Regions from separate parts of the Homo sapiens genome. Here all the other regions are linked to region 1. Evidence: promoter capture Hi-C in 16 types of primary human blood cells and fetal thymus (Javierre and others, 2016). All regions are on one chromosome and are shown on one strand. The core of a region is centred on a gene start or on the middle of the fragment in contact, and the rest is flanking DNA. Distances in the headings are between cores, read along the strand shown.

Evidence for each region. The method cuts DNA at HindIII sites, captures the fragments that hold promoters and counts their contacts. A CHiCAGO score of 5 or more calls a contact.
Region 2: a contact is called between a fragment that was not itself captured here and the fragment with the promoter of NOP14 in region 1, in 1 of 17 cell types (naive B cells). The highest score is 5.0, in naive B cells.
Region 3: a contact is called between a fragment that was not itself captured here and the fragment with the promoter of NOP14 in region 1, in 3 of 17 cell types (neutrophils, fetal thymus and erythroblasts). The highest score is 8.2, in neutrophils.
Region 4: a contact is called between the fragment with the promoter of LRPAP1 here and the fragment with the promoter of NOP14 in region 1, in 1 of 17 cell types (neutrophils). The highest score is 5.1, in neutrophils.
Region 5: a fragment that was not itself captured here is called in contact with the fragment with the promoter of NOP14 in region 1 in 1 of 17 cell types (neutrophils); the score reaches 5.1 in neutrophils.
Region 6: a contact is called between a fragment that was not itself captured here and the fragment with the promoter of NOP14 in region 1, in 1 of 17 cell types (neutrophils). The highest score is 5.9, in neutrophils.

What each region holds. Positions count from the first base shown.
Region 1 is chr4:2,960,380-2,965,348 of GRCh38, reverse strand. NOP14 (NOP14 nucleolar protein) reads left to right here and starts at 1,943. Exons shown (of 18, transcript NM_001291978.2): 1 at 1,943-2,224. The coding sequence starts at 2,030. GRK4 (G protein-coupled receptor kinase 4) reads right to left here and starts at 1,778. Exons shown (of 16, transcript NM_182982.3): 1 at 1,227-1,778. The coding sequence starts at 1,278. RefSeq lists silencers at 1,106-1,155, 1,326-1,755 and enhancers at 1,218-1,751, 1,752-2,285, 3,316-3,385. The HindIII fragment of the contact is 6,609 bases long and covers 1-3,783 here.
Region 2 is chr4:2,214,920-2,219,888 of GRCh38, reverse strand. The region is part of intron 3 of POLN (DNA polymerase nu); the gene reads left to right. Among named protein-coding and RNA genes, the nearest start is that of HAUS3, 25 kb to the left of the region's middle. RefSeq lists a silencer at 4,113-4,407. The HindIII fragment of the contact is 287 bases long and covers 2,165-2,451 here.
Region 3 is chr4:2,244,423-2,249,391 of GRCh38, reverse strand. It overlaps MXD4 (MAX dimerization protein 4), which reads left to right. Exons shown (of 6, transcript NM_006454.3): 6 at 1-1,960. Among named protein-coding and RNA genes, the nearest start is that of MIR4800, 3.2 kb to the left of the region's middle. The HindIII fragment of the contact is 3,873 bases long and covers 915-4,787 here.
Region 4 is chr4:3,530,122-3,535,090 of GRCh38, reverse strand. It overlaps LRPAP1 (LDL receptor related protein associated protein 1), which reads left to right and starts at 2,669. Exons shown (of 8, transcript NM_002337.4): 1 at 2,669-2,882. The coding sequence starts at 2,679. RefSeq lists silencers at 2,430-2,489, 2,930-3,179 and an enhancer at 2,680-2,889. The HindIII fragment of the contact is 16,557 bases long and covers 1-4,768 here.
Region 5 is chr4:2,401,372-2,406,340 of GRCh38, reverse strand. The region is part of intron 1 of ZFYVE28 (zinc finger FYVE-type containing 28); the gene reads left to right. Among named protein-coding and RNA genes, the nearest start is that of ZFYVE28, 15 kb to the left of the region's middle. RefSeq lists enhancers at 4,124-4,795, 4,916-4,969. The HindIII fragment of the contact is 2,011 bases long and covers 1,605-3,615 here.
Region 6 is chr4:2,419,400-2,424,368 of GRCh38, reverse strand. All of the region lies in intron 1 of CFAP99 (cilia and flagella associated protein 99), which reads right to left. Among named protein-coding and RNA genes, the nearest start is that of CFAP99, 2.9 kb to the right of the region's middle. RefSeq lists enhancers at 1-433, 434-1,023, 1,024-1,614. The HindIII fragment of the contact is 2,046 bases long and covers 992-3,037 here.

The DNA of each region.
Region 1 (4,969 bases), core at 694-3,193:
GGCAAGGGAGACATGAGGTCCGAGACAGAGGATTGCACAGAGGATTGTGGGGGTCTCCCGCTGAAGGGCTGGACCAACTGATGCTTTTGTGGCGGGATGCAGAGGACTAGAGAGACCAGCATGGGTGAAAACAGGAGGATATTTATGTTAAGGTACGCACCAGCTCAGTGGATTCACATCCAAAAAGCTGAGCCTTGAACAAAGACTAAGCAGGATTTTTATAAGCAAACTTACAGAAGCAAAACAAAGGCAGTTAATCATATAATGACAGGTCACATAATCTATAGCATAACTGATGACTTGGCATAACTTGTGGCCTTGCATAGCTGGTGGCCTTGTAGCTGCGTTGAAAGAAAAAACCAAGAACTGGCTAAACACAGATATTTGTCCTCTTTTTTTTTTTTCTTCACCCCTGCTCTGGAAGGGGGGTGTCTGGAGCCTATTCCTTTGGATTCGACTTCTCAAACAGAACAGCGTTATCTTATAACTGTCCTTAAAGTGAGCTTGCTAAGCAAAAGAAAACTTGTTCTTCTTTTCTTTTTAACCCTTGCCTTGCCACATTCTGGGCCTTGGCTTTTTCTTTTCTTGGAGTGAATGAATGCAGTACTTATTACTATTTTTAAATTTCTGCCTCACTTTAATAATGATAAAAGGCTGAATTTTTGCCAACTTGTCCATCTGTGACCACGTCGTGCTAAAGCACACTTGACACACCATAGAGCCTCAGATCAAACCTCAAAACCAAGCAGCTATGTTAAAAATAACATTGCCCTACAATCATTATCGGAAGGTTCTCGCCCAGAGTAGTTCCCAGGCTGCTATTCTTTGTCCCCCTTAAGACCATAAAGACGCCGTTCTTTTTTGGTGGGACAGGTTGTCCAACACAAGCAGGACACTGCCTGCCGCATCCTGAAGCAACACTGTCACCGAGGTCACACCGAGAGGACAGGACAAGGACACAGGGCAAGACTAAGAAGAGCAAAGCGCAGACTTCTCTCATCTGGGCCAGGAGATGGGGACTGGGACCTGGCCCGGGCAGCCTGACCACACTGCACAGACCCCGGCTCCGGCTCCGTGCAGATCTGGGTTCCCCCAGTGGGAGGTGTCGGGGCTCTCCAGGGAAATCGGGGTTCTCCGGGGATGTCGGGTTCCTTCAGGGGGGCCAGGGTTCCCCGGGATTCGGGGTTCTCTGGGGGGGGGGTCGGGGGCGCCTGCCGCGCACCCACCTTGACGCGCTTTCAGCAGCAGCGAGTTGGCCACGATGTTCTCGAGCTCCATGTCCTGGCGCCGCCGCCGCCGGCGGATTCTGCGAGACCGAGGAGACTGAGGAGGCGGAACAGGAGGAGACGCCGCCGCCCCCGTGCATAGCTCGCCGGGCACCACCCTCTCCTCGAGCTCCGGACACGATCCCGGGAGGCTGCTCCGCCGCCACCACTGCCACCAAGGGCGCCGCCGCCGCCGCCTCCGCAGGCCCTCACCAGCAGGGGAGCGGTCGGGGCGAGGGGAGGGGGCAGCCCGACCGCGGCGGGTCCCAGCTGTCACCGCTGCCGCGCTATCGCCCCGGTTCTTCTTGGCCCCATCGCCCTCGCCTCGCGCGCGCAACTCCCTCCTCAGTGCCCTGCCCCCGGGCAGCCCCGAGTCAATGCCGTGGCTCACTTCGGACAGGGGCTCACTGGCAGGGGCGCCCGCCGCGGCCGGCGACCCGCTCCCGGGCGGGCTCGGCGCTAACGGCTTAGCTGAAGAGGGAGCGCCCCTCGCCGCCGCGGCCGGGGCACTACAGCTCCCAGAAGGCCCTGCGCCAAGAGTACACGGCGGGCCGCGGCGCGTGGCCTGCTGGGAGTTGTAGTCGCTGAGCCTATCGGCGAGTAAGCCGAGCCTGCGGGCGCGGTGTTTACTTCTCGCGAGTCGGAGGTGCTGCGCTGTTCTCGCGAGACGAGGAAGCGGTTCCGCGGCCCGGCACGTGTCTTAGGGTAGCGCGCGCCTGTCTCTCTTCGGGTCTCGGGCCCTTGGGCGCAGCGGGGCGCGCGCCATGGCGAAGGCGAAGAAGGTCGGGGCGCGAAGGAAGGCCTCCGGGGCGCCGGCGGGAGCGCGAGGGGGCCCGGCGAAGGCCAACTCCAATCCGTTCGAGGTGAAAGTTAACAGGCAGAAGTTCCAGATCCTGGGCCGGAAGACGCGCCACGACGTGGGACTGCCCGGGGTGTCTCGCGCACGGGCCCTCAGGAAGGTAAGCGGGGGGCGCACGGGGAGCCGGAAGGCAGGATCTGGACCCCACGCTGCTCTCGGCCGGCTGCGTCCTTCTCGGTGCGTCGGTTTCCTCGTTGAGCGGCACAGGCCGTGACAGGCACACGGCACTGACTTGATAGTCCGAAAGCCTCTGCTGTTCTCTGAGCTGGAGTGACCTGGAAACTCTCGCCGTCTTGGAGACCCTGCACTCGTGTTATTTCGGCGACTCCTCCAACCGGGTCAGGCCGAGTCAGTCACTTCGGGCGGCGCCCTGGACCAAGCTGCTTGTTAACCCTTCCGCGTTTACTTTGAGCTCTGCAGGTTTGGGGACGGTGGATAGGGGCTGTGTAGGATGCTGCGTTTGATGTTTCATCGGCTCTCTCCCGAAGCGCGTAACCTTGTTCCTTGGGAAGTAACTCTATGGAAACTCATTGCTTCCTAGTTTTTTTAACTTTTTTTTTTTTAAATTTTCACTGAGGAACATACATTAGCAGGTTGGTGAAAAAATTAAGGCACAGAAAGGACAAGTGCATTTCCTAAGGTCACGCACCTGGTAAGGGCTGGGCATGCATTCACATTTCAATATCTACAAAGCCTTCTTGCTACCCCGAGCGCTTCTGTTTGACCTCGCTTCTAGGTTCGGGGAGATAAAGGTAAATAAGACTTGCCCTTGCCTTCATGAGCTCCTGATCTCTGTTCATCACAGTGTGCAAGCTGGATGGTCTTTGAATCAAAACACATATTATCCTTACTGCGCGAAGACGACAGCCTGTATAATGAATAGGCAAGATAGACTTACAGCTGACTTCGATAGGAGTCCCTCATTACACACCCCCGGGCCGGGGTGGGAGAATAAGGTAGTGTGGTTCCCTAGAAGAGACACATTTGTCTTCACCACTGAAGCCTCAGTTTTCTCATTTCAAAAGTAGAGATGATAGTATACATCCTACCCCTCGTGGTGGTTTGTGAGAATTAAGTAAGATAGCACATAGAGCACACAGCAAGTGTTCTCTAAATACTGTTATTCTTAACCTTCTTGGCTTGTCGTTCGAGTCCCGCACAGTCTGGCTGTTGTCCTTGCTTCGCCTCTTGCAACTCAGTTTGTCCAAAAGGTCTGCCTTACCTCCGAAAGTCTCTAAAGGGCCAGCTCAGGTTCACCACCCAAGCTATGTAACCCAAATAGGACAGGTTGCTCAAACTTCTGGTATTGAGCAGATCCACCTCCCTGCCCTGTGCTGAAGGCCTGGGACGGGGACGGGAATTGCTGCTCCTTTTTGGATCTCCAATGCTTGGCCCTTGGAAGAAACACAAATATTTGAAGAAATCAAAGATGGAACCTGAGTGCCTTAGGAGATCCCGGTCAGGAAAAAGTGTAATAGTTAGGAAAGTCCAAAAATTCTTCTAGAGGGAGTTACAGTCAAGTTTTGCAAGGGGAGTGAGCTGTTCATGGGCCCAGGGTGGGCAGAGGACACACATGCAAAGGCACATTGTCCCGGTATGGTGAAGTGTGGCACTCACAGCTGTCTGAGGGACAGCAGGTCGTCCAGTTGACTCCAAGCTTGATAACGCGTGTAGGGGCCGTGAGGCCGGCGCAGGAGGCCTGGGTCTTTTCATGTGGGTTAGTCCCTTAGAAGTAAACAGGCTGCCTCAGTTGGCTTCTCCCCTCTGGTCAGTTGTAGCACTCTGAGGCACTCAGTCTGGCAGGAAGAGGGCAGCCCCCAGGTGCCAGTCTCAGGACATTGCTTTATAGCTGTGCCTCAGTTTCCTTATTTCTGAAATAATTTATAAAATAAGTTATATTAATGTAGTTCTTAAATCAGTAACTATATTAATATAGTTACTATATATTAATATACTAACTATATTATTAATATAGTTACTATATATTAATATACTAACAATATTAATATATTAATATATTATTATAATATTAGCATATTAATATATTATTGTAATAGCATATTAATATATTATTATATTAGTATATTAATATATTATTATAATATTAATATATTATTAAAATATTAATATATTATTATAATATTAATATAGTATTAATATAATATTGATGTAGTATTAATATAATATTGATATAATATTAATATAATAATATTGATATAATATTAAAATAATATCGATATAATATTAATATAATATTGATATAATATTAATATAATAATATTGATATAATATTAAAATAATATCGATATAATATTAATATAATATTGATATAATAATATAATAATAATGTAATTATAATATTAATATATTGATAATGTGATTATAATATTAATATATTGATAATGTGATTATAATATTAATATATTAATATTAATGTGATTATAATATTAATATATTAATATTAATGTGATTATAATATTAATATATTAATATTAATGTGATTATAATATTAATATATTAATATTAATGTGATTATAATATTAATATAATATTAATATAATAATATATAGTAACTATATTAATAATATAGTTACTGGTCCCTTACAGTTGGTCAGGCCTTGTGCCACACGGTTTACATTTAATCCTCACCGTTATGAGGGGGAAGTACTGTTATCCCCATTTTATGCCGTAAATTCCATATGATGTCACAACATCTATATAGTTTAAGAAAGAAAGAGAATCACAATAATGTAGAATAACTCATATTACGTATTTATAGCCTAAGGGCTGTTCTTCACTAAGATTTACCCATAGAATCATATTCCAGATAATGAGAACTAATATT
Region 2 (4,969 bases), core at 1,059-3,558, 750 kb after region 1:
TGACAACCCGATGAAGATTCCAAGAGGTGGTGCCAACATACTGCTAGGATGGCTTTTAGTTCCTTGTAGGAGAGGGTTCATACTAAGTGAAGGAGAAAGATTAGAACTGCCAGGGCAGATGGTAAAAGAAGGCATGAAAAGCCAGGAGAGGTGGACATGCTAGAATGGCCATATTGTGGAGGGCTGGGAAACTCAGCAGGTAACATTGTTCTGCAGAAGGGCGCTCTGGATGCTCTATTTACCGAAGCAATAATGAAAGCTGATGAGGGAGTGGGGAGCATCGGCTTCACTGAGAATCTCAGTGGTGTCTGCTATAGACCAGGGCTGATAATAGGAGATGCCTCCTGATAACAGTCAGGGAGATAGGATCCTGACATAGAGGCCAGGTGGTGCTGCCTGTCAGAAGCAGGGTAGATACAGTTCTCGTAAAGTGACTTCAGACCTGGAACCAACTGACTGAAGGAGAGGCCAGGTCCCCAGGAGGAAGGATTATGCAACACCATAGTGAGTGTATATGGCAGTTATTTTTCCTGTCTTTCCGCCAGGGAAACCTGTGGCCATTTACTCTGGGAACTTATACAAGGGGGAAAGGGATACTGAAACATTCATATGATATTGATACCTGGAGACCTAAAGTATCATCATGGTTTCTCCGTCAGAGGCGCAAGGACTCAAGCAATAAATGGAACCTTGGCCCAGATTACACTATAATGGGAGGGCTCACTCCGAAGCCATTTTCCAAGTCCCCACATGTTATTTGGAATGAACAGACTGTTGGAAGAACCCTCAGGTACTGGCTCCTTGGCCTGAGGATGAGAGCTCTCCTAGTGAGTAAGCTCAAGTGGATGACGCTGAAACTGCCTTCCCAGCAAAGATAGTGAATTAGTATAGCAATATGGCAACCTAGGAGAAATGGCAGAAGTTAGTGCCATCCTTAAACCCCTACAGGATTCAGGGCACAGGGTGGTCCCTGTCATATGTTCATTTAATTCACCAGGTAGGTGCTCACAGAAGTCAGATCCTGGAGAATAACAATTGACACCACAAATAGTTGTGACCAAGTTATAGCCCTAATGACAGCTGGTGGGCTGGATGTGGCATATGCAATTAACAAGGCCTCAGGTATATGAAATGCAATTATTGATTTGGTGAACACATTCTTTTCCATCCCTGCAGAAATATTCACTCTGAATGGACAATATAAATTTGCACCTTGCCCCAGTGCTATGTTATCCCGCCACCCACTGTTTTGATGACATCATGCCAATCAGCATAAGCAAGAAATGGCAAGTTTGTTAGCTGTCTTGCTGTCCAAAACATGGGAGATAAGCACACAGATATTCTGGGGCCCACCACAACCATGAAGTTTTTGGAAGTTCAGTGGTCTGAGGATAGGTAGGATATCCCCTTGCAAGTAAAGGACAAATTAGTGCCTTTTTTTTTTTAAGGCAGTTTCACCCTTGTTGCCCAGGCTGGAGTGCAATGGCACAATCTCAGCTCACCACAACCTCCGCCTTCCAGGTTCAAGCGATTCTCCTGCCTCAGCCTCCCAAGTAGCTGGGATCACAGGGATGCGCCACCATGCCTGGCTAATTTTTTTTTTTTTTTTTTGTATTTTTAGTAGAGACGGGCTTTCTCCATGTTGGTCAGGGTGGTCTCGAACTCCCGACCTTAGATGATCCGCCTGCCTTGGCCTCCCAAAGTGCTGGGATTACAGGCATGAGCCACCACGCCTGGCCACCTTTTTTTATTTTTTATTTTTCCCCAAGAGACTGGGTCTTACTGTGTTGCTCAGGCTGGCCTCAAACTCTTGGGGTCAAAGTGATCTGCTTCAGTCTCCCGAGTAGCTGGGACTACAAGTGCACACCTGGCTAAATTACTGCATTTTTAAGAATGAAGCATTAAGAATGAAGATGTTAACTGGTCGAGTCATCCTGCAACGTGGTTAACCACATAACCATTAAGAGTGAACCATAACACCTGATAGGCATCTCTGGGTTTAGGGAGTGGAGGCAGCATATTCCACATTGGGAATACTGCATAGGAAAGCATCCTGTAAGAGGCCTAGGCTGTGAAGCAAGTGGCTCAGCTACTTGGACTTCCAACCCAACAGACCTTGTGATGTTAGAGGTATCTGTAGTGGGGAAAGATGCCATGTGAAGCTTAAGGCAAAGCCCCAACAGAAGAATCTCAATGCAGACTCCTAGAACTCTGGAGCAAGGCAATGCTATCTGCAGAAACAAATTATAAATTTTTCAAAAACAAAACTGTCATGCTACTGGGCCCTGGTAGAGATGGAGCGTGAGGCCATGGTGACATCAAGTGACCATGAGCCAGAACTGCCAGCATGAGCTGGTTCTGTCAGACCCACTGAGAGGTGGGCATGCAGCTGTCCATTGCAAGTTGGAAGTGGCTCATTTAGTACTAGGTACAAGCAGGCACAACCAAGCTTTTCATGTGGCCCAGAACCCATGACATCATTGGTGCTGGCACTGGTACTTCTGACGGGGGCAGCCTTAAGACCAGCTGATGGAGGCAGGAAAAGTTAGAGCTTGGTTCATGGTGGGTGGGCTCTGAACAGCCTGATTTAGGCAGCCCTGGAAGACAGTGCTCAAGGGAAACCCAATGGGTAGAACGTTGGGTGGTGCCCCTTGACTATCTACTTTGTGTGGAAGGAGAAGTGGCCCCAGTGTTAACACATTTGGAACTCTTGGGCAGCGGTTAGTGGCTTGACAGGTTGCTCAGGTACCTGGAATGAGAAAGATTGGAAGATCAGGGAGTTCCTGGAGTAAGGCATGTGGAGGGATCTGTGGGAACAGTCACGAAGTACTTCCCACCCAAGAACATTCACCATGGGGACACACCAAACCACCACATTAATAGGATGACTTGGCCAGTTGACATCTAGCCTCTGCCATCTGCTGCGCCCATGCTGGCACACTGGGCTCTCTCATGGAGTAATCATGGGGTGGGTAGATGCTGTGCATGGCCCATAGCATGGGGCTCCCCCTCACCAGAGCTGACCTAGCTATTTCTCTGCAGAACATCCAATCTTCCAGCAACAGAGACCAAACACTGAGTCCCCAGTTGTACCTTCCTTGGAGGGAAACAGTCATTTGACAACACTGAACCCCTTGTGCCCTAGAAGGTACAGTGATTCATCTTGGCCAGAACCAACACACGTTACAGGCATGGGTTTGCCTTTCCCATTCTCATGGATTCAGTCAGCTCCATCACCCAAGTTTCACAGAGTGTTTGATCCACAGGATCCTGCGCTCAGCCAAGGAACTGCAGCAGTGGGCACATGAGAGTAGGACTCACTGTCTCCCTCACAGCCACACACCAAGAAGCTGCCAGCCTGATGGAGCAGCAGGATGGTCTGTGGAAGGCACAGCTCACCTCGTGTGCAGCCTGGAGGTGACACCTGTGATGAAGCAGTCACCTCCAGGGTGCAGTCTGCACTGCAAATCACTAACCAGTACGTGGTGCAGTGTCCTTGGTTTGTGTAATAAATGGGTCTGGGAACCAAAAGGTGAAAGTCATCACTCCCAGTGACCCACTTAGAAATCTGTATTTCTCCCTCACACTCCTCTGGGTTCTTAAGGTTTAAAGGTCTTGACTCTCAAAGGGAAAACCTTTCCAGCAGGGGCACAGGAAGAACGCCATTTAATTTCCAGCTGTGGCTGCTGTCTGGTCATTTTGAGCTCCTTGTGCCAAGAGACTGGCTGGCAAGGAATGTAATTTCCATCTTCTGGGGTGGCTGACCGTGGGCGTCAGGTGGAGGTAGAGCTGTTACTACATAACTGGGGGCAGGGAAGCACCCAGGTGATGTGATTGGCCACCTCATGGTCCCCTGCCCAAATTTGATGGCAAATGCTGGGGCTATGGCCAGAGAAGGGCATGGTGGCCAGGGGCTTACCTCTCAGGGATGAGGGTTTGGGTTACCTGATCAGGTAAGCTAAGCCACCTAGAGCAGCAGAGGAGATAGGCAAGGGTGAGGAGTTAGCATGGGCAGTAGAGGAGGGAGATGAATGTAATTTGCAACCTTGAGGCCAGCTGCAGCAAGATGTAGTTCATCCCAGTGCCTTCCTTTTATAAATTTCCCAAGGAAAAGGCCCGCCAGAATCCTACAGGAGCTGCTCCCAGAACGTCCCTGAAGCAAGTGGCTATGAGCAGTGCAGTGTGGAGTGTAGCAAGCACTGTGGTTCCCATATGCCCCTTTAGTACTGAAGCACTGTCCCTGCTCCTGGGACAGCCCCTCCCTGATTGCCTGGCTGCAAAGAACTTCTTTGCCCAAGGGCCCACCCCTTCCCCAGGAGTGACTGGTCCAGTGACTAGTTTGTGCAGGGGTATAAAAGCCCAGCTGTCTTGACCCATTGGGAGACACATCTGTAGGACCATGCTCAGCTCAGGGCAGGCCTTTGAGTGACTGCATCTTAGCCATTGTCTTCCTTGGTTGGATTCTGCTTCCTTCACTCTCCAATCACCTTTTCAAATGCAAACCTTCATCACAGAGGTGGTCTCCCAGGGTACCCGAGTGTTATGTGCGTAACATCTTCGTGTGCATAAGCGGGGAGATTTGGTCATTATTTTTAAAAATGAGGTCATCATCTTCAGTCAACCACTATAGCTGGAGTCATTTTCCCCCCTGCAATCTATGTTTTAACAAGGTCATTCTTTTTAGTGGCTATGTATTTCATGATGTGGATATTATGTAATTTATTCCTCAGTTTTCTTCTGATTGGTATCTACTTTATTTTCAGTCCTTTGCCATAATGAGCAATACTGCTATAAACATTTTGGTTTAAACCTGTTTACTGTTGCATATATTTCTGTGAAACAGCCAAGAGTGAGATTATTTGGTTAGAGATTATTTGGTTAGATGATGGATATTATTTCCTATCTGTTTTTGTTAAGGCAAGAGCACTCTGTCTCTCATATATATATGGCTGAGGTATATACATATATA
Region 3 (4,969 bases), core at 1,602-4,101, 720 kb after region 1:
GCCTCTGTTTCCTGTACCAGATTTTTGTATTCTATTTTCCTAGCTGTTGTTGCGTCCTTGTTTGCTGAGGGGTGGGAGCCACCCAGCGTCTCAGGGACCTGTCCCTCCGTCACGTCGTCAAAGTGTGCCTTGTGTCTTGTGTCAGGCCTTGCCCTTCCCACCAGCATGTCCCTCGTGGCTCAGGGTGCCCCAGGCCTGCCCAGCTAGTGCTGTCCTCCCATCTCCTGTGGGCAGCCCCTCCCGGCAGCCAGGGCTTCCTGGAGGCGATGCAGCCAGGCCCCTGTGGGTGGCACGGAGGGGCTGTGACCTGGTCCCCAGTGTTGCCCTCCCCAGTGGCTGGCAGGGGCCTGCTTGCTCACTAGAGAGATGGATTCTCACCTGTCACCTGACTCGAGCCCCCTGCTTCCTGGCCTAGGCGAGGGTTCCAGGTTTCAGACACTGGCAGCCAATGAAGACTGTGCTCGCTGGGTGGTGCAGGCCTGGCACCAGGAGGCTTGCACCCGCCTTTCCTTCCTGACGTCCTCTGTCCTTGGGGCTGGCCCATAGCAGTGCCTGCCGTGCCTCTGGTACATCTGTAGCCAATTCCCATATCATGGGGAAAATTCGTGTCTATTTTCAGTCGTACGCATAGACGCCCCAGGATGGGGGGCCCACTGTGGCGGAAGGGGGTCCCTGGAAACAACTCTGGCACAGAACCTGCCCTGCAGGCTGTAGGGGGCATGGTGCCTGGAGCTGAGGGGCATCCGAACGCGTTGCGGGTGGTTGTGAGGAGGCCTGTCTGCATCTCCTTCCGGCCCCACTGGGGTCCAGGGGTGCCCAGAAAGGAGCTTCCCCTGCCTGCCTGAGTCTGTCCCCCCAGGCTTCATTTCAAACACCGTGGCACCTCCGAGCAAGGCGGGCCGTGTGTAAAAGCTTGCTTCCCCAGCCAGCACTGCAGGGCCCTGAGGTGGTCGTGTCCCTGCCCTCAATTCTTGAAGCACCAGCTCCCTGCCCCACCCTCCAGTGCCTGAGGCAGCTAGGGGCTTCTGCTCTCATCTCTGACCAGCAGAATCCACCCGGTGACCAGTGGTGGCCCCTCAGCCCACCCTCCCGGCAGCTCAGCCTGTGGCTCTTGAGGCCGTGGTTCCCACGTGGACTGGGAGGCAGTCTCAGCCACCCGGGGTGCTGTTCAGCTGCCCCTCCCTGCCATCAGCAGGTGGGTGAGGGGTTGCCCACTGGGTGGGGGCCCGTGCTAGGAGTCACCACATGCTCCAACCTCCCACTGCTCCCTGTCAGGGGCCCAGGCTGCCATCACTGGAGGCTGCAGGGACCAAGAGGCCATCACCGTGTCTATAGAGAGCAGACAGAAGCAGAACAGAGCCCGGGGCTCCTGAGCCTCTGCGTGTGCCCTCCCAGCCCACACCAGTGCTCTCGGCCACTGAGCACCCAGACTCAGGCTTGGGTTCCCCAGCCTTATTGGAAGGCAGCTCCCGCATACCAGGATAACCCCCGCAAACCACATAGCAGACCCCCGCCATCCTCGCAGAGTGGGAGAGGCTGCAGCAAGGCTTTGCCTCTGCAGACCCCATCTTAGTGGCACGGTGCTTGGGCCTGTGTCCCCGGGTGGTGGAACCCTGTACCGGTCTGTGGCCCTAGGGTCCCTGCTCTGTCTGCCCCGGCCCGTGCTGTCCGCTGGGTGAGGCAGGCTCCCCCGTGCCCTGCCTCCCTCTGTCAGGGAACCTGGGACCCCCTCCCCACTGCCTGCACAGAGGACCCTGACCCTCGGCCAGCAGGGTGGCCCCAGGTCCATGTTGGGCACTAGGGCAGGTTCCGTGCCAGAGTCGGGGGCCACACGAGGGCCTGGTGCCGGTGAGGGGGGCGTGCGCTAGAGGGGGAAAGGGGCCCCCGGCCACCTGTCCACCGTGTGGGCCGTGCTGTGTCCTTATGTCATTGTAATATAAATACAGATTTTTATATCTCACCCTGCTGGCTCCGGCTCTTTCTGTGGTTGTCACTGTCAGCGTGCTTCGCGCCCTGCCCTCGGCCTCCAAGCAGAAAGCCTGGCCCAATGGCACCACGCCATGTGGCCTTCGGGCCGTGGCCCTCGTTGCCCTACCACAGCCTCTTTCCTGGGAGGCCTGACGGAGCACGGCACCCCGTGCCGCCAACCACACCGGGCCCGCCGTCACAGCTGCCTCCCTGGATGCTGTGGCGCCTGGAGCTGGGTGAAGGTGGGGTTGAGGTGGGCGCCCCCATGGGCCTGTTGGCCAACTGGATGCTCTTGTTGCTCTTGTCCCAGAGGCACTGGGACTTTGCCTCTGGCCCTTGTGCTGGGGCCCTGCTGGCCGAGGACAGCCCGCTCCCTGGGGTGCTCCGTGCCAGCCAGGAGCCCTCTGCACAGAGGCTGCTGGCTCTCAGAGCTGCACTGTGAGAATCGCTCTGTACCTGTTCCCAGAACTACCTGGGCACGGCTTCTGCTTCCTGTCATGGGGACCTGCCGTGCTGAGGTGAAGCGAGATGGTGTAGCCAGCTGTCCCCTTGTGCTGGTGGTGACCACGGAGACACAGGCTCCTGTCGTGCCCATCACGGGGTGGTTGTGAGGCGATGAGACTTCACGCAGTGGGGAGAAGAGGCCTTGTTCTCACCCAAGCAAGCCAGGCTGGCTGCCCGCTCCCCCACAGGGAGGCCTTTTGGAGGGAACCCCCTTGGAAGCAGAGACCTCTGATCTGCCGAGGGCCGGGGTTGGTGGGGGTGTGGGCCCAGCTACCCTGGTGCACAGGGAGGAGTCCTGGGGGCCCCAGCAGTGGGCAGCTGAGAGAGGACATGCCTGCCTTGAGTGCTGGAGAATTGATGGAGCTGGGTGGTCATACGGGGGGTCCTGAGTGTGAGGTCGCCACACTGTGCACACGGCAGCTATGCACTGGAGGTGGCCCAGTGGGACCCGCCAGCAGGTTGTGGGGTGGCCATGGAGGGTAACTGCTGGGGGCCTCAGGGAGGAATCTGAGCTCCCCTAACCCCCAGCAGCAGAGTCCGGATCGTTGAACCTGTGTGGGCCCCAGGGCCCTCGAGGCCATTAGCGGGGGCACCCCAGGAAAGAAAGCAGTTCCTCCTGGGAATGTGGCTGGGGCCTCAGAGACACCAGGATTTGGCCATTCATGTAAATGTGGACATTTAAATCCCAAATATTAGGATTTGGGATCACCACTACCGTTTTCTATCGAGGGCATGCAGGTGCCAGGGGCTGTGCCCAGTTCCATGTATGATTGGTGCCTGGTACCATCATGCTGGGCCCTTCTCACAGGTGGCACACTGAGATTTGGAGACGCACCCCTCCCCTGCTCACCAGGCTGGCGGGTGGGATACCTGGGACAGGACCCCTGTCCTTTGGGAAGCCCTTGATTCTCCCAGCAGAGTCCATCTCTGTTTTCCATCTTTGTGCTTGTTGGGTTACAGCAAGTCCCCCTCCAAGTAGGACCCTGCCTGCAGCCTCCTACCCACCCTCTTCTTGGCAGCCTGAATGACCTTAAAGGTCTCCTTGCTCACCTCCCTAAAGTCCTCCTCTGGGTCCCCATGGCCTCCAGATTAAACTGAAACACCGCGTTTTGTCCTTCAGCTCAGTCCGGCCCACCCCTGCCCTGGCTTCAGCCCCCACTCCCACCTGCTCCCTGCATTCACCAGCTCAGGCACAGCCTCCTCTGGGAAGTGGGCCCTGAGCCCCCTATATCCCTTCCCACCACATTTTTGCTGAGATTATGGTCACCCAAATTAGGCGCTGGAATCATCTGGGCTAATCGCCACAGGGCCTTCTCGCATTGCTCCTTCCTCCTTTCCTAGTCCTTGGCCAGGTCAGCCCTGTACACACTGGCCTCATGGGGATCTTTCTAGAATGTAAATGGTTATGCCACTGGCCTGCTGAGCCTCAGGGGTTCACAACTCCTCTTCCTGTCCTGAGGCCCTTTCTGACACCCCACCAGTCCCAGGCTCTGCTGCCAGCCCTTGTGGTTCCCATTCCTCCCCACTTCAAAGGCCCTCTCCACGTGGCCACCTTGGTGAATGAACTCTGTCACCTCCTTTGGGCTTGTGCTGACCCAAACCTGCTCCTGAGTCTGGGGACTGAGTTCTCGCTTTGTCACATGAATGTCAACAGGATGGAAAACAAACTCTTTCCCAACCCTATAGTCTTCTACTTTCTTCTTAACAGGAAGGATTAGTGGGAAGAATAGGAAGAAATGCCACTCCCTACTCAGCTGGAAACCCCGGAGTGTCTCGGACCCAGGCTAGTCATCAGGCCCCAGGCTTTGCCAGCTCCTGCAGCTCTCTCTGTCCAGCTCTCTCCTCCTCTCCTACATGCTGCAAGAGTGGTCCTGTATCTTGTCTCTTACCACCTTTTGTCATTTTTCATCTTGCAGAATTATGCTTCTAACACACATCTGAGAATTCACTCTCCTGCTTGAAAACAGCCCCCATTCTCCATTGCTTGCAGAATAGAGTCCCACAAAATTCATGGAAAACTACATCTAAAAGAAATAATCTTTAGCATCTGACTGTTACTTCTAAAGTTTAAAAACAGTCAGAAAAGATACTGTCCAAAACCTAAAATATTTTTTAATACTAATAGGAGAAAATCGCTTCCACAGGAAGGAGAAAAAGCAAACAGCAAAAACACTTGATCCTCACAGCTCTGTCTTTAGGTCTGTTTAGTCCATTATATTCTCATGGGCTTTTTCAGGGAGGATTAATTCCTGGGTTCCATTTATCTTTTGACCTTACTAAAACTCCAAATAATTTTGACTGCTGAAAAGAAAGCTTACCCTGGAAATACACGTAACATACTTGCTTTCTTAAATTCCCAAGGCAAGCTGAAGAAAACTTTCCACATCTGTATAGTTAAACCTATTGTGTTTGTCATTTGTACTCCAGGGGCTGATACTGTTGTAATTTTTACTTAATGGTTTTATGGCTTTTATGGTCTCATAAACACCTTTCCAAC
Region 4 (4,969 bases), core at 1,420-3,919, 570 kb before region 1:
GAAAGCTGGACAATCCTCAATGCCAGGCTTCCCAAGAGACTCAATTTGTTTTGCTCTGAGAGATGGTCCTATAAGCACAGTTCCCCTTTTCTCTCGTAAGCAAGATACTCAGCTTCAGCACTGACCAGCCTCACAATCCGTCCTCACCAAGTGGAGGGCCCTCCCTCCGGGTTCCTCCACGGCCGTATCTGTCTCTGTTCATACACCTTCCCCTCAGCACTTAGAGACACGGGCTGGCATGGCGGGTGCTGGCGGCAGGGGTGAGAAATAAACTTTCAGCCCTAGAGGAGGAGCCCAAGAGGAGAGCATGCCGTCACCTGGAGTCTCTGGTATGTGCCTGGCACCTGTACTGATTGCATTAACCACTGTGATTTTTTAGAAGATGTACTAGTTTGAAATGTATAATACATACGGAGAAGTGTATGAAATATGTACAATTTAAAGATAAGGAAAAATGCATGCCTGTGTGCCCACCACCTAGTGAAGAACTACAACCTGGACACCACTTTGGAAGCCTGTCTGTGTTCACCCGTCGCATTCTCCCTCCTCCCCCAGCCCAGGTATCCTCCATCCTTTAGCCATCCCCTGACTTTCTTTAGTTTCATTGCCTGTGTATGCAGCCACGAATAAAATATTGCTTAGTTATCTGGGAAACCGGGCTGTATAGGAAAAGGGCTCTTAGAACCCCACACCACTGTCAGATGCAGGATCCCAGAAGACTCTGCTCCCAGTCCAGCTTCCAATTCCTGTGGGTTTATAACGGGCCTTTCTAGAGACACTGGGGGCAGGATTCACAGAGCTGGAACATTTGCAGTTAGGACCACATTCCAGATGACCAACAGGGACATGCTTGGGGGGGATAGGCCAATTTGGACTATCCCCTTCTAAGCCCACCAAGACCTACCTGTAGCTCTCAGGAGTGGGGTCAGGGCAAAACATGTATGTGGGGTAAAACAGGTGACCTCTGATTCTAGGCACCAGGAGATGGAGAGAAGAGCAGGAACGAGGGAACACAAGGGGAAGGCAGGCACAGGTGAGAATCTAGGCCAGGCTCACCTGGCCATTCTGTCCTGAGGCTTAAAAACATGCAATGATGGCAATGACAGCATTTGATCTGTCTCTGGAGTCACTTCGCATGAGGTCATTCTCCCTCCACCACCCTCCTGGGGGATTCCTTTACCTCCTCTCCCCCATACATCCCATATTGGGAACTTGTGCTTCCAGCTAAGATGCAGTAACAGACTGAATTTACCCTCTTGCCTGAAACAACTCAACAGCTGGAAAAAAAGAAATGAAACGATGGCTCTGAAAATACTAGAAAAGCAGCACAGGACAGAAGCAGATCACCTTGATTCCAGGGACCTGAAATCTTCTCTGGAACAACACAAGATACAATTTAAATGTAAATTAGGGTAGGCCCAGTGGCCCACGCCTGTAATCCCAGCACTTTGGGGGACCAAGACGGGAGGGTTGCTTGAGCCCAGGAGTTGGAGAACAGCCTGGACAACATAGGGAGACCTAATTTCTACCAAAAAATTTCAAAAATTAGCTGGGCGTGGTGACACGCACCTATAGTTCCAGCTACTTGGGAGGCTGAGGCAGGAGGATCGCTTTAGCCCAGGAGGTCGAGGCTGCAGTGAGCCATGATCATGCCACTGCACTCCAGCCTCGATGACAGAGACCCTATCCCCCCACGCAAAAAAAGGAAATGAATTAACATTAATTCCTCTCAAGATGCCCAGGCTCTATTCACCCCCTTTGTCATTGTCCCTCCAGTTGGAAATTCCTCCCTCCCCCCGCAAAATCCCGCCCACCCTTGGAGGCCTTTTCAGATCATTCTTGCCAGATGAGCTCCCCTTGTCCCTTCTCTGAGCCCAAAGGGGCCCAGCTGCTGTCTGTCTCCCTCCTTCCCCTTGTTTCCCGCGCTACCTCCAGGGCACTTCCCAACTCACTGGCCAAGCCCCCAACGAGCGGTCTATGCTAACTTTGGCTCTGTGAATTTCCTAGAGTGTCATGGGTTGGGGAAAAGCGCGCGAAGTCCTGCCTTGCAGCAGGCGCGAGAGCAGGCGCTTGGGACGCGGGTTGGGGCAGGGGCCCCGGGACGTAGGGGGACGTCTGCGCGGCCCTGCGTCCCCGGGACAACCTGGCCTGGGCTTACCCACGGCCAGGCGCTCCGCGGAGGGCAGAAGCGGGCTGGGCCAGGCTCCTCAGCGCCAGGCCCGGGCCGCAGTGCCAACCCCGCAACGGCACTGGACATGCAAGAGTCGGCGTCAGTGCGCGTGAAGCCGGAGCATTATCAGGCTCAGCCAAACGCGGCCCGGTTCTTGGGCTTTCCGCTCTTTCTGTGGGGCAGAGAGGGAAAGAGGCCTCGAGTCGTGCGGGCTCCAGGCTCCGGGCTCTGGGTGAGGCCTGATCCCTGCTCCCACCCGGCCACCCTCATTCTCCAGTTGTATCCCCTGCCAGAGTCTGCAGCCTCGGGCCGCGGCGTGGTTGCCTGGGAAACGCTTGCGCCTGCGCAGGGCTTCCTAGGCGCTGGAGTCCGCCGGCGGCCTCGCCGCTGCCGGCCGCTCACGGAGGAACTACAATTCCCAGGAGACCGCGCGGTGGGTGGGGGCGGGGTAGTGGGCGGGGCATCGGCAGGCTAGGTTTTCTCCGCGCAGCGCCAGTCGCAGAGGAAGATGGCGCCGCGGAGGGTCAGGTCGTTTCTGCGCGGGCTCCCGGCGCTGCTACTGCTGCTGCTCTTCCTCGGGCCCTGGCCCGCTGCGAGCCACGGCGGCAAGTACTCGCGGGAGAAGAACCAGCCCAAGCCGTCCCCGAAACGCGAGTCCGGAGAGGAGTTCCGCATGGAGAAGTTGAACCAGCTGTGGGAGAAGGCCCAGCGAGTGAGCGCGGCCCGCGGTCGGTGGAGCGGGGCCTGGGGGCGGGGGCCGTGGTTGGGGTCGTTGGAGCGGGGCCCAGGGGTCGGAGGCGGAGGGGGGCGCAGCCGGGGCACCTGTGCCCTACGCGCCCTGTCCTTGGCACAGCCTCCCCCAAGTGTCAGGTGGGGCGCCCCGACCCCTTCTGCAGCAGGAAAGGTACCCGTGCCGGCGACGACGCCGTGTGAAGCAGGTGGCGGCCGGCACCCCGAGGGTCAGTGTCGCCCTCCCCAGCCTGGGCGGCCTGCTGACCCGAGCGTAGGGACAGAACCAGGCTAGATCACAGGTCTCCTGCCTCCCGAGCCTTTGCCTGTTCCCTCAACCTTATCTCCCTATGTGGGGAAACAAGAAAAACAAAATGTTGGGTAGAAAGACGTGTCCAGGGACAGAAGGAATCCCAGTAGCAAGCCCGTGCTTGTTCATTTGAGCGAGAAATGAGGAGGTGAGGAGATGGGATCGGTTTAGAGCACATAAAACGCGACCTTGGGAATGCTGAAAGTCAGTCTTAACAGGGCGCTCACCTGACCTCTCCTTCATTTGAGAGATGAGGGTACGGAGGCCCCGAGGGGAAAGGGCACCCCCAAGGTGGCTCGGCCGGTGGGGCCCCCCGGGACAACAGCTTCCTAATTGGTGCGTGACCCTGGGCCAGCTGCTCTCTTCATTAAGATACGGTTGCTTCATTTGTTAGGTGTTCCTGAAAACACCTGAAATGGGTGTTTTCGAACTATGCCGACCATCTGGGCCTCATTATCTCATCTCAAATGCAGGAGTCAGATTAGATCTCTGTCTCAATAGTCCAGTTTTAAGCATTCCTGAGTCTTTGAGAGGGAAAGTAAGTGATTTGCAGAATAAGAAGGAACTTTTGGAACGAAAAGGGAGAGGAGAAACAGGTGGGGGACAGACAGACGACAGACGGTTATAAGACTGCGTGGGGATGGGGATTGACGCCTGGGCATCAGCTCCACAGGCCCTTCCTGAACTGCTCCTGGGACCAGCAGTCAAGCCCCAGGCGTAATGTTCAGCCTGCGGAGGTGGGAGGTGGGAGAACGCTCTGGGCTGGAGCGGCAGGGCGGCTTCTTGGAGGAAGGGATTCTGGAGGGGCTGGGGACACGGCTGGGTTTGGATGTGTTGATGGCCTCCCAGCAGCAGGGAACAGGTGTGACCAGGAGCAGCCGGGATGCAGTGCTGCCTCCCCGTGCCCACTGCACTGGGCATCTGTTGAGTGGGTGGAGTCCCCCCTCCCCATGAGGAATGGGGAGCCCGAAATAGACTCCCTGACCGATTGGAGGTGGCGCTGAGGAAGTGCACTCGGACCCAGGAACCCCAGCGGCTCCCTTTTGGGTGCTGGCCCAAGTCTTCCACCTGCTCTGCAGGGCCGCCCTGGTGCGCTCCACCTTACCTCCAGCCACCTCCAGCTGGTCCTCTGTCTTTGTCAGCCCAGGCCTCCTGCAGCAATACACCTGCCCTCAGGCTGCCCCTGCACTGGTCCAGCTACCCTCGGGCTGCCCCTGCACTGTCCCCCGGTGCTGGGTGCTCGCCTGACCAGTTTCAGTCTTGGGTTGGGTCATGTCTCCTAAACCTCCCTGAGGTTCACTGGGCACCATGGTAGGGCGAGCTGCTCACCTCCACTTTGGACTGAGCCTTGGACTAGATGATCTTTCTGGTCCCTTTAAGTCCTGAAGTTCTAGTTGTGTGGGCAAGTCTTTTTTGCTGAACAGAACGTGAAGTTCTTCGGGGGTGAGGGTGTTTTGGGGGATTTTGTGTGTCTTCCCCCATTCCAGAGAGCCTGGTACTATGGCAGGCAGGCCTGCAGAGCCCATTCGTCCTGATTTTCCTTCCAGATAACGGAAGCTTGGAGGGTGGCGGTGCTGTGAGGGTGTTCTATCCTGGAGCCAAGTGTGCAGGCGTCAGACCCGTCCGGGTCTTTTTGAGGTTCTCAGTGGCGGTAGTGCATCCCGGGTGGTCTTTGTGCTGTGGCTCTTTCTGCCGAGCGTGCCAGGGCCCAGGGTGGTCAGGAGGCAGGAGGAGCCACAGTCAGTTCAAACGTAGGGGGA
Region 5 (4,969 bases), core at 1,361-3,860, 560 kb after region 1:
GAGTATAGTGGCACGATCTTGGCTCACTGCTACCTCTGCCTCCTGGGTTCAAGTGATTCTCCTGCCTCAGCCTCTCGAGTAGCTGGGATTACAGGTGTGCACCACCACACCCAGCTAATTTTTGTATTTTTGACAGAGATGGGGTTTCATCATGTTGGCCAGGCTGGTCTTGAATTCCTGACCTCAAGTGATTCACCTGCCTCGGCCTCCCAAAGTGCTGGGATTACAGGCATGTGCCACCATGCCCGGCTAATTTTCTTTCCTTTCTTTCTTTCTTTTTTTTTTTTTTTTTTGAGACAGAATCCATTCTGTGGCCCAGGCTGGAGTATAGCAGCGCAATCTTGGCTCACTGCAACCTCCGCCTCCCAAATTCAAGTGATCCTCCTGCCTCAGCCTCCCGAGTAGCTGGGATTACAGGCGCCTGCCACCATGCCCAGCTAATTTTTATATTTTTAGTAGAGATGGGGGTTTCACCATGTTGGCCAGGGTGGTCTCGAACTCCTGACCTCAGATGATCCCCCTGCCTTGGCCTCCCAAAGTGCTGGGATTATAGGCGTGAGCCACTGCGCCCAGCCAGTGGGCATTTTGAAACTGTTGAAAGAACCAAGAGAACCCGAGGGACAGTGACAGGAGTGCTGGCTGTCGGCCTCACCTGGCTCCTTCCTGACCACTCCAAGGGACGTGAGGTCTCAGAGACAATGGGCACGGGGGCCACTCTCCTGTGCCCCGGCCCCTTCCCTCTGACCTAGGGAAGGCTTCCTGGCCTGCAGATCTCAGAGCCTGGGCCTGCTCAAGGTTACAGCTCGGCCATGTGGCTGCCTGCAGTGGGAGCGGGGCACTGCAGGGAATGATGGGAAACTGTAAGTCTGCTCAGCGCACCCATCAGTCGACCATCAGCACAGTCGATCTGCAGCCTCCCACAGCGTCTGAAATCCAAGGAAGTCCCATTGGTCTTCTCAAATTTGGTCCAATTGGTGTGCTCCAGACACTTCTGAAAAGGCCAAGGACTGTGGGTGGTAAGGCCTGCCTCAAAGCTCACTGTGGGGAGAGAATGGAAAAGCAGGTGGCGGTGCACCCCATCTTCCCTTCGCGGTGCCGCTTGGAGTATGGGGAAGACACATGGCTTCTCTCCTGAAGGCCCCAGGCCCAGCACCGCTTTGTCCGGGCCACTCTCTGGGGGTATCTGGGGCTCACTTTGGAACTATCCAAGGATATGCCTTTGGGGACAAATTCGGCTTGTGGATGAGGTTAGTTATGGTTCATTTTTGTTGTTATATATATATTTTAATCTTTTAAGAGATTGAAGTGTGGCTGGGCATGGTGGCCTACGCCTATAATCCCAGCTACTTTGGGTGGCCAAGGGGGACGGATTGCTTGAGCCCAGGAGTTTGAAGCTGCAGTGAACTACGACTGTGCCACTGCACTCCAGCCTGGGCAAGGGTGACAGAGCAAGACCCTCTCTCAAAAAAAAAAAAAAAAAAAAGAGCGAGACTGAGAGGGTGAAATGCAGTGAATATATAGGTAACCATTGAAAGCAAACCATCAGTGATATTTCCTGTATTCGCAATGTGGTGCAGCCATTGGCTCTCTCTGATTTCAAAGCTTTTCCATCATCCCATATAAACACCCTGTTTCTATTATGTAGTCACTCTTCACTCACCCTGCCTCTGGCCCCTGGAACCTCCAGTTGGCTTTCCATCTCTGCGGATTTGCCTGTTCTGGACGTTTCGTATAAAAGGAGTCATATGCTGTGGGGCCTTTTGTGTCTGGCTTCTTCCAGTTTCATCCATGTTGTAGCATGTGTTAGCATTTCATTTTTATGGCTGAATAATATTCCATTAGTGGACAGACCACTTTTTGTTTTCCATTCACCTGCTGATGGACATTTGGGTAGTCTCCATTTTTGGCTGTCATGAATGACACTGGCATGAGCGTGTGTGTTCGAGTCTTTGTAATTTGATTCTCTTGGGGAGGTGCTTGGGTGGAATTACTGTGTAGCTCCATCTTCAGCGTTTTTTTTTTTTTTTTTTTGAGGCGGAGTCTCGCTCCGTCCTGCAGTGGCGCGATCTTGGCTCACTGCAGGCTCCGCCTCCCGGGTTCATGCCATTCTCCTGCCTCAGCCTCCTGAGTAGCTGGGACTACAGGCACCCACCACCATGCCTGGATAATTTTTTTTGTATTTTTATTAGAGACAGGGTTTCACCGTGTTAGCCAGGATGGTCTCGATCTCCTGACCTCGTGATCCGCCCGTCTCAGCCTCCCAATGTGCTGGGATTACAGGTGTGAGCCACCATGCCCGGCCCATCTTCAGCTTTGAGGAACTGCCAACTGCTTTCCCCATTGTGATTCTTTTTTTTTTTTTTTTTTTTCCGAAATGGAGTTTCGCTCTTGTCACCCAGGCTGGAGTGCAATGGCGCAATATCTGCTCGCTGCAACCTCTGCCTCTCGGTTTCAAGCTATTCTCCTGCCTTAGCCTCCTGAGTAGCTGGGACCACAGATGTGCACCACCACACCCAGCTAATTTTTTTTTGTATTTTTAGTAGAGACGGGGTTTCACCATGTTGGCCAGGCTGGTGTCGAATTCCTGACCTCAGGTGATTCACCTGCCTTGGCGTCCCAAAGTGCTGGGATTACAGGCGTGAGCCACTGCAGCTGGCTTCCACTGTGGTTCTTGACAGAGAGTGGGTCATCGGAGGCGGGGTCGGTGAGTGCTGAGAGGGGCCTGAGAGGGCATCTATGGCCCTGCTGTGTGCTATGGCTTTGAGCTGCCCCAGCCCTGGTGAGCGGAGTGCCCTGATAGGACTCCCACTTCTCCTGTGCTTGTAAATCAAGTCAAACCCCTCGAAACCACAGGCCTGGGGAGGTCTTCAGAAGTGCGCTATGTCCTCCCGCCACGATCCAGGGATGGCCAGGGCCGTGCTCCGAGAATTCTGGAAGGCTCATATTGCGTGTTGACACTCGTGTGTGTGACTGCATCTTTCTCTCAATGGAAGGTTCCACGCACTGCTTCCCACGCCCCCACTTGAGTGGCAGTGACAAGGTCCCACTAGTCCTTTGCCCATCTCAGATCCCTCTGCAGACCCGACGCTGGGGTACAGGCTTTTTCCCCTCCTGGGCTGTAGCCCTGGAAGTGTGGGGGCATCTGTGAGGAGCTGGGGCTCAGGGCAGCCCTGGTAGCTGAGGAGAAGGCAGCTGGGGCCACACAGGCTTGGGCCACAGCCCAGAGGGGTCATCAGGCGGCCACGGGGAAAGGACCTGTATTGTTCTGTGTGCCCTGCATTGTCAGAGAGGTCAGCATTGCACTTTGACTTTCCTCAAACACGGATAATGGCACGCCAGCCTCATGGAGACTCCCAAATGGGGATCCTGTTTCTGAGGGTGCTGGATGGGTGGTAGGCACGTCCTGTGAAGACCATGCTGGTGTTAGCTGACCGGGTCCTGAGCTAGGAGGAGGGGCCTTGGTGGAGGGGGCAGGCTTGGCCCTGCAGGGATGGGTCAGTGCTGCCCTGGTTTTCATGCAGTGAGAGGCTGACTGAGAGCAGAGTGAGCTTAAATTCCAGCACTGGTGTATCATTAGATGTGGGTGGGTAAATAGAGCACAAACGCACCTAAGCTTATTAGTCTGGTACAGCTGCTACGGTTTTTAATATTCCCTTCTAAGCCTTTTTCTTGGCATCTGTGTGAGTGTTGTTGTGCGACTGTCTACCGCGTTCCCTGCCCGCTCTCTGCTGTGTGGCTTCCGTGTTGTCTTCTGCCGGCCACTTCCCCGGGCTTTGTGGATCCGACTATGAAACAGTGATGCTGGCGCTGTCTTCCTCACATGCAGTCCTGGCTTGAGGATGTTCTGCTAGTTTTTGCCGCTGTTGCCTGCTCTGCTTAATACAGCTCTTGCTGACCCATCAGGACTTCTGGGGACCATAGCCAAGCAGAGGCTGCAGGACATGGCCTTCCAGCACCTTCTGCTCCTGCAGCGGGCGGGGCGGGAGATGGTGTCTGATGGCGGGGGCGGTGCCGGCTTGCCTGGCCGACTTACTGATCCAAGCCCTGGAGCAGCTGACCTTGGGAGGAGTTGGGGAGGAGGGGCCCCGCCCACCCAGCAGGGCTGTCTCCAGGTTGAAACGAGCTCCCAGCTGCAGCGCTGTCTGTGCGGTGCCTGGTGCCATGAGGGGAGCGGTGGCAGCAGAGCTCCATGCTCACTGGGGACCCAGCTGAGCAAGTCCCTCCTCCAGCGCCAGGGAGAGGATTTTAAAAGCTGCTACCACTGTCCCTCCACAGCCGGCAGGACCGGGATTTCTTCCTCTGTGTCTCTTGACAGCAGAGACTGCAGCATGACAAAGCCTCAGGGTCGTCGTGAGCTGCCCGACCCAAATCCCTCAGGCTGGCCACCACCACGCACACGGGGCTTCAGGGAGCGCTGGGAGGGCCAAGTGAACTGGTTTTGTTTGAAAGGTCTTTCTCATGAGAGGCTCGAGGAGAGGACGCAGCCCAGGTCTTGGGCCGGGACCCCCGCTACCACTGGGACCCCCGAGGGTTTTGCTGCTGATGGATGAAGAGGCTCCTGTGGAACTGTGGCCTCTGCTCTGCACCTGAGCCCCGGGGGTCATAGAGGTTCTTGGGGTGGACTGCGGTGCGGGGCGGCGAGGGGACCGCAAGGAGGCACTCCTTTTGGCTCCTGGCAACTCTGACCAAAAAGGCAGGCCCATGGAAAAGGCAGTTTTATCCTCTGAAAAACCTCTCTGTAGACACTCTCTTCCTTGGCTCAGAACTCACAGAGCCAGAAGGAGGAGGGGGAGGGCCTGGGGTGGGGCAGGTAGCACCGTCTGGTGTCAGAGTGAAAGCACCCTGTGGTTAGGACAGCTTCTGAGTGCTGCCCGGCCGGGAGGGTGTGTCCCTGCGACCCGGGCCCTGGGCCACCTACTGCACAGGCTGTGAGGGTGGGATGTGGGCACCGGGACTCCTGCCCTAGCCC
Region 6 (4,969 bases), core at 765-3,264, 540 kb after region 1:
CGACTCTCCTGCCTTAGCCTCCTGAGTAGCTGGGATTACAGGCACCCACCACCATGTGGCTATTTTTTGTATTTTTGTATAGCCACCATGTGGCTAATTTTTGTATTTTTTTAGGAGAGACAGGATTTCGCCATGTTGGCCAGGCTGGTCTCAAACTCCTGACCTCAGGTGATCTGCCTGCCTCAGCCTCCCAAAGTGCTGGGATTACAGGCGTGAGCCACCACGCCAGGCTGTCCTTTTAGGGGCTGCTTTAGGGACCAGCCTGGCTGTGCATGGACACAGAGGCCAGCAGGAGCCTCTCTCTAAGGAGGCCAGAAGAAAGGCCGCTTGGAATTTGGAAATCTGGCTTGAAGCCCTGGTGCTGAAAACAGGCCCTGGAGACCAGGCCTCCCAGAACAAAGCGAGCATGAGCCTCTGGCACAGCCAGGACCGTCACTGCCCGGGAGCCTGCCCTGGGCCCCGGCTGGGTCCCCCTCCCCCCACCCCATGTCTGGAGACCAGCAAGGCTGCCTGGAGGTGCGTTCCTGCGCCAGTGCGGTCCTGATGATTCGGGGCAAGGGAAGAGACAGTGATGCTGCTGGCTTGGAGAACACCAGATCAGAAGCCATTAAACCCGCAAATCCACAGATGCTGAAATCTAGATGCTGCAGCCAGGCTTGCCTGGGCAAGATGAGAGAGGTTTGTGGGTGAGGCTGCCCAGACCCTCTGAGGGTTCCCACCCCCTTCATGGCCTGCCCCTGGGGACCTGCCACCTAAGCTGCCTCAGCCCATCCTGCGGGAAACCTTTGCTTCTTGGAAGGCTGGGCCATGGAAGAGAGACCACCCACACCCCACCCCAGCCTCAGGGTCCTTTCACTCTCCTCTGATCCCCTCTAGCTGAGTCTCTGGCGTGGGGATTTCAACAGCTGTGAGCAGAAAGGCCCAGGAGGCCCACTGAGCACCCTCCCCTGAGCCTGCCAAGGCAGGAATACTCAGGGCAGGGCCTTAAGCTTGTGACAGGCTCACCCTAAGTCCCTGCTCTCTCTGAATTCAGCCCCTCTCCTCGGGAGGGTCCCAGCAGGCCAGGCCACCAGTATGGCAGGGGTGCGGTGCGGTGTGGTGCAGTGTGGGCGTGGTGGCCAACCCTGGTGGGTAGGTGGATCCAGGCAGCCATAACACAGCCAGGGGGCAATAGGCTGCTGGCAGCAGGAAGCACTTTTCTGGGGCATTGCTCTTTGGGGAGGGGGGACTTGTGGCTTTCACTCCAGGCATTGCTGAGAGCAGTGGGGGCTCCCTGTAGGCAGTGAGCTCACAGCTCACAAATCCCACTCCCCATCTTCGCCAGGGTCAGCCACACTGAGACGTTTTTTAAAACTCCACAGCGTAACTGGGGACTTCTCTACAAAAAAATTAAAGAATGACTCAGGTGTGGTGGCACGCCTGTAGTCCTAGCTCCTTGGGGGGCTGAGGTGGGAGGATCCCTTGAGCCCAGGAGGTTGAAGGTGCTTTGGGCTATGTCTGTGCTACCACACTCTAGGCTGGGTGACACATTGAGATCCTGTCTAATAAATAAATGTAAAGGTCTACTTCTAGAGAAACAATGTTAAAGAGTGAGTTTTCTTGCCCTGCCTCCACGTCACGTTGTGGGTCAGGCTGCCCTGGGATGGGGTCCCCTTGCCCCAGCCTTTTTGAATCTGCTCTGGATACAGCTCTGCCTGGAGGAACAGGGTATACACCCAGGAAAAGGGCCCCTTCTTGCGCCTGGTGGGGGCGGTGAGAGTGGATGGTCTGCATGTGTGTGGTGGGAGCTGCTGCCAAGGTGGAACAGTTTCCCTGCCGTCTCCCCCTGTCCTGGAGCTGGAGCATTCTGGAGAAAGGATGATCCTAGGTACCCTTTGGTGATGCAAATCGAGGAGGAGGAAGAGGGCCATGCCAAGCCCGCCCCCCAATCCAGGGCGGACCTGGTAGGAATGAACTGGAAGGAATAAATGGACAAACCAAGTTGAAGATGGGGACGGGGGTGAAGAGCTCCTTTGGAGTCCAGCCTGACTCAAATTGTCCTGCCCTGCCCCTGGAACCCTGGTTCACTGTCCGGCCTGAAGGTCCCTGGGGCGGGGCCTCTGCACCCCTGAATCTGGCGCAGAGCAGGTGTATGTGAAGGTGAATGTAAGGAAAAGAGATGCTTGAATTCTGAATCCCACTGAAATTAGCCTAGGAACTTCATCAAAACAATCACCTCTTTGGGGAGGAAATAGGTACTAAAATTCATCCAACTGTGACGCCTGCTTTCAGCATCTCAGCTACATTCATGCATTCTCAAATTCTCAGCCTGATTTTATTTTTTTCCTGATTTAGGGTCTCACTCTGTCACCCAGGCTGGAGTGCAGTGGCTCGATGATAACTCACTGCAGCTCAAGTGATCCTCCTGCCTCAGCCTCCGGGGTAGCTGGGACTCTAGGCATGTACTACCACGCCCGACTAATTTTGTGCTTAATTTTTTTTTTTTTTTTGTAGAGACAGGGGTCTTACTATGTTGCCCAGGCTGGTCTTGAACTCCTGGCCTGAAGCGATCCTCCCACCTGAGCATTCCAAAGTTCAGCTTTAATAGTGAAGTACCATCTATGTGGGAAGTGGGATTTAATTCTCAAGTTTAAAGATTTTTTTCTCATATTGATTTTAACTCCATTGATCAGGACTTGACTATCTTATATTTAAGGCAACTTTAAAGGTGGGCTGGACTAGGCTGGGCGCGGTGGCTCATGCCTGTAATCCCAGCACTTTGGGAAGCCAAGGCGGGCAGATCACTTGAGATCAGGAGTTCCAGACCAGTCAACATGGTGAAAACCCATCTCTACTAAAAATACAAAAATTAGCCAGGCGTGGTGGCAGGTGCCTGTAATACCAGCTACTTGGGAGGCTGAGGCAGAGAATTGCTTGAACCCGGGAGGCAGAGGTCGCAGTGAGCTGAGATCGTGCCTCTGCACTCCAGCCTGGGCGACAGAGCGAGACGCCATCTCAAAAAAAAAAAAAAAAAAAAAAGGGTGGGCAGACTAAAGCTTCTCTTTCCTTAGGAAATATTTTATAGACACAAATGAGATTATATGAGGAGGTTTAAATTCCATCAGACACAAAACAGCTCAACACTCTCAACCACTAGGAGATAACTCATTTACCTAAGATCTCAAATGTATGTTAATTAAAATATAGTCTTTTCTCCCGATTAAAGCCAGTCTCCTAAGGGTTGCTACCAAGTCATGCCCCTATGGCTTGTGCTTAAAGCACAACCCCACGTGGCAGCTTTTGCTAGTTGCTTTTCAATCTCCACTACCCCTTTCCTCCCAAATAAGAAAACTCTGATTTTTAGCTGGGTCTACTGCTGCCCAATTGAAAGATGGCATTTCCCAGCCTCCCTGGCAGCTGGGGCATGGTTGTGTGGCTAAGTTCTCCCACCACCTTCAAGAAGTGGAAAGGTGTGAGACTTCTGGAAAGTCTCCCTGAACGAGAGAGGCATATCCATCTTCTCTTTTGCAGCTGGTTCCTGGGCCGAGGAGGTGATGGCAGGAATGTGGGCAGCCATCCTGGATCATGAAGAAACGTGAATGGCAGATAGAAAAGCTGATCCTTGAGGACTTTAGGGCTGCCATACCAACCACGATTGCCTCTCCATGGACCTCTTTTATAAAAATATGAGTAATATTCTTGTTTAGGCCACTGTGATGTTGGGATTTTTCAATACATGCAGCTAAACCTAACTGATACCCCACTTCCCCAAGTTCAGCCTTCATCCCATGCACAATTTCAAACTATAAAACACAGGAAGGGAGCCTCTGAGCAGATACAACTGCTCCAGGCCTTGGAGTTGGCCAAGGATAGACCCACAGAGAACAGCCATTCACTCAGTGGACAAGCCCATCAAGTGTCTACCCCAAGATCCTGTGCTGAAGAAATGATGGCTTTGGGAGCAGCAGGTTTTATGGGGGAAGACTGAGAGTGTGGTTTGGGACACGTTAAATTTGAGAGGATCTGTTAGGCGTCCAAATGGTGAAGAACAGGTAAACAGGTCTGGAGTTTCAGGGTTGAGGCTAGAGATATAGGTTTTGAGAAGTTTGGGAGAAAATGGTTGTTTATAAAACCATGTAACTGTAGGAAATCCCCCAGGGAGGGAGTGGATAGAGTAGGTTCCAAGGACTGAGTCCAGGGTCTCCAGTGTTGAGAGGTCGGTGAGCAGGGGAGGCATCCAGCCAAGGAGATCAAGCAGGAGTGGCCAGGAGCGAGGAGGAGAAGTGGACAGTGGGATCTGTTTCAGCCAAGTGAGGATGCTGTGTCACGGAGAGGGCACAGTCGGCTGGGTCACGTGGTAGTGACAGTTCAAGGAAGAGATGAGCGCTGACCCCGATCATCGGATTTTGCAACATCAAGGTCAAGGATGACTTTGATAAAGAGCTTCAGAGGAGTGGTTGGGTGAAAATCTGATGGGAGTAGTTTCCAGAAAGAACAAGTGGGAAGGAATTGGAGATAAGGGGAAACTCCAGAGGGGTTTTGCCCTTCAGAGGGTCGACTGGGTGGTAGGAAGAGGAGAGTAGGGAAAATCAATCAGTTACTCAAAAATAAACATGGACCCTACCCCCAACTAAGAGAAATCTTAGATGCCAGCGCGCCTAGGCTCACATCGCGTCTGTTGGAATAAAGTGGTCATGGAGCCCACGGACCTTTCTGAGCACCTGGCACTGGCCAGTGAGGACAAGCAGGAACAGGTCAGACTTCTCAATTCTGAACCGAGGGGGGCATGACTTCCATCTCCTGTGTCTTACATCTGCACGTTTCACAACAAGCCAGAGACGTGGTGGTGGTGCGGCAGGGAAAAGTGCAGCGCTGTGGGGTCAGGCCGACCCAGATCCGCCGTGATCTGGATGCAACCCCCACAGCCAGGGCACGCCGGCCTCGTTGTGCCTGCTTCTCTGGCTGTCAATGGGAAGTTTAAGTGAGGCCA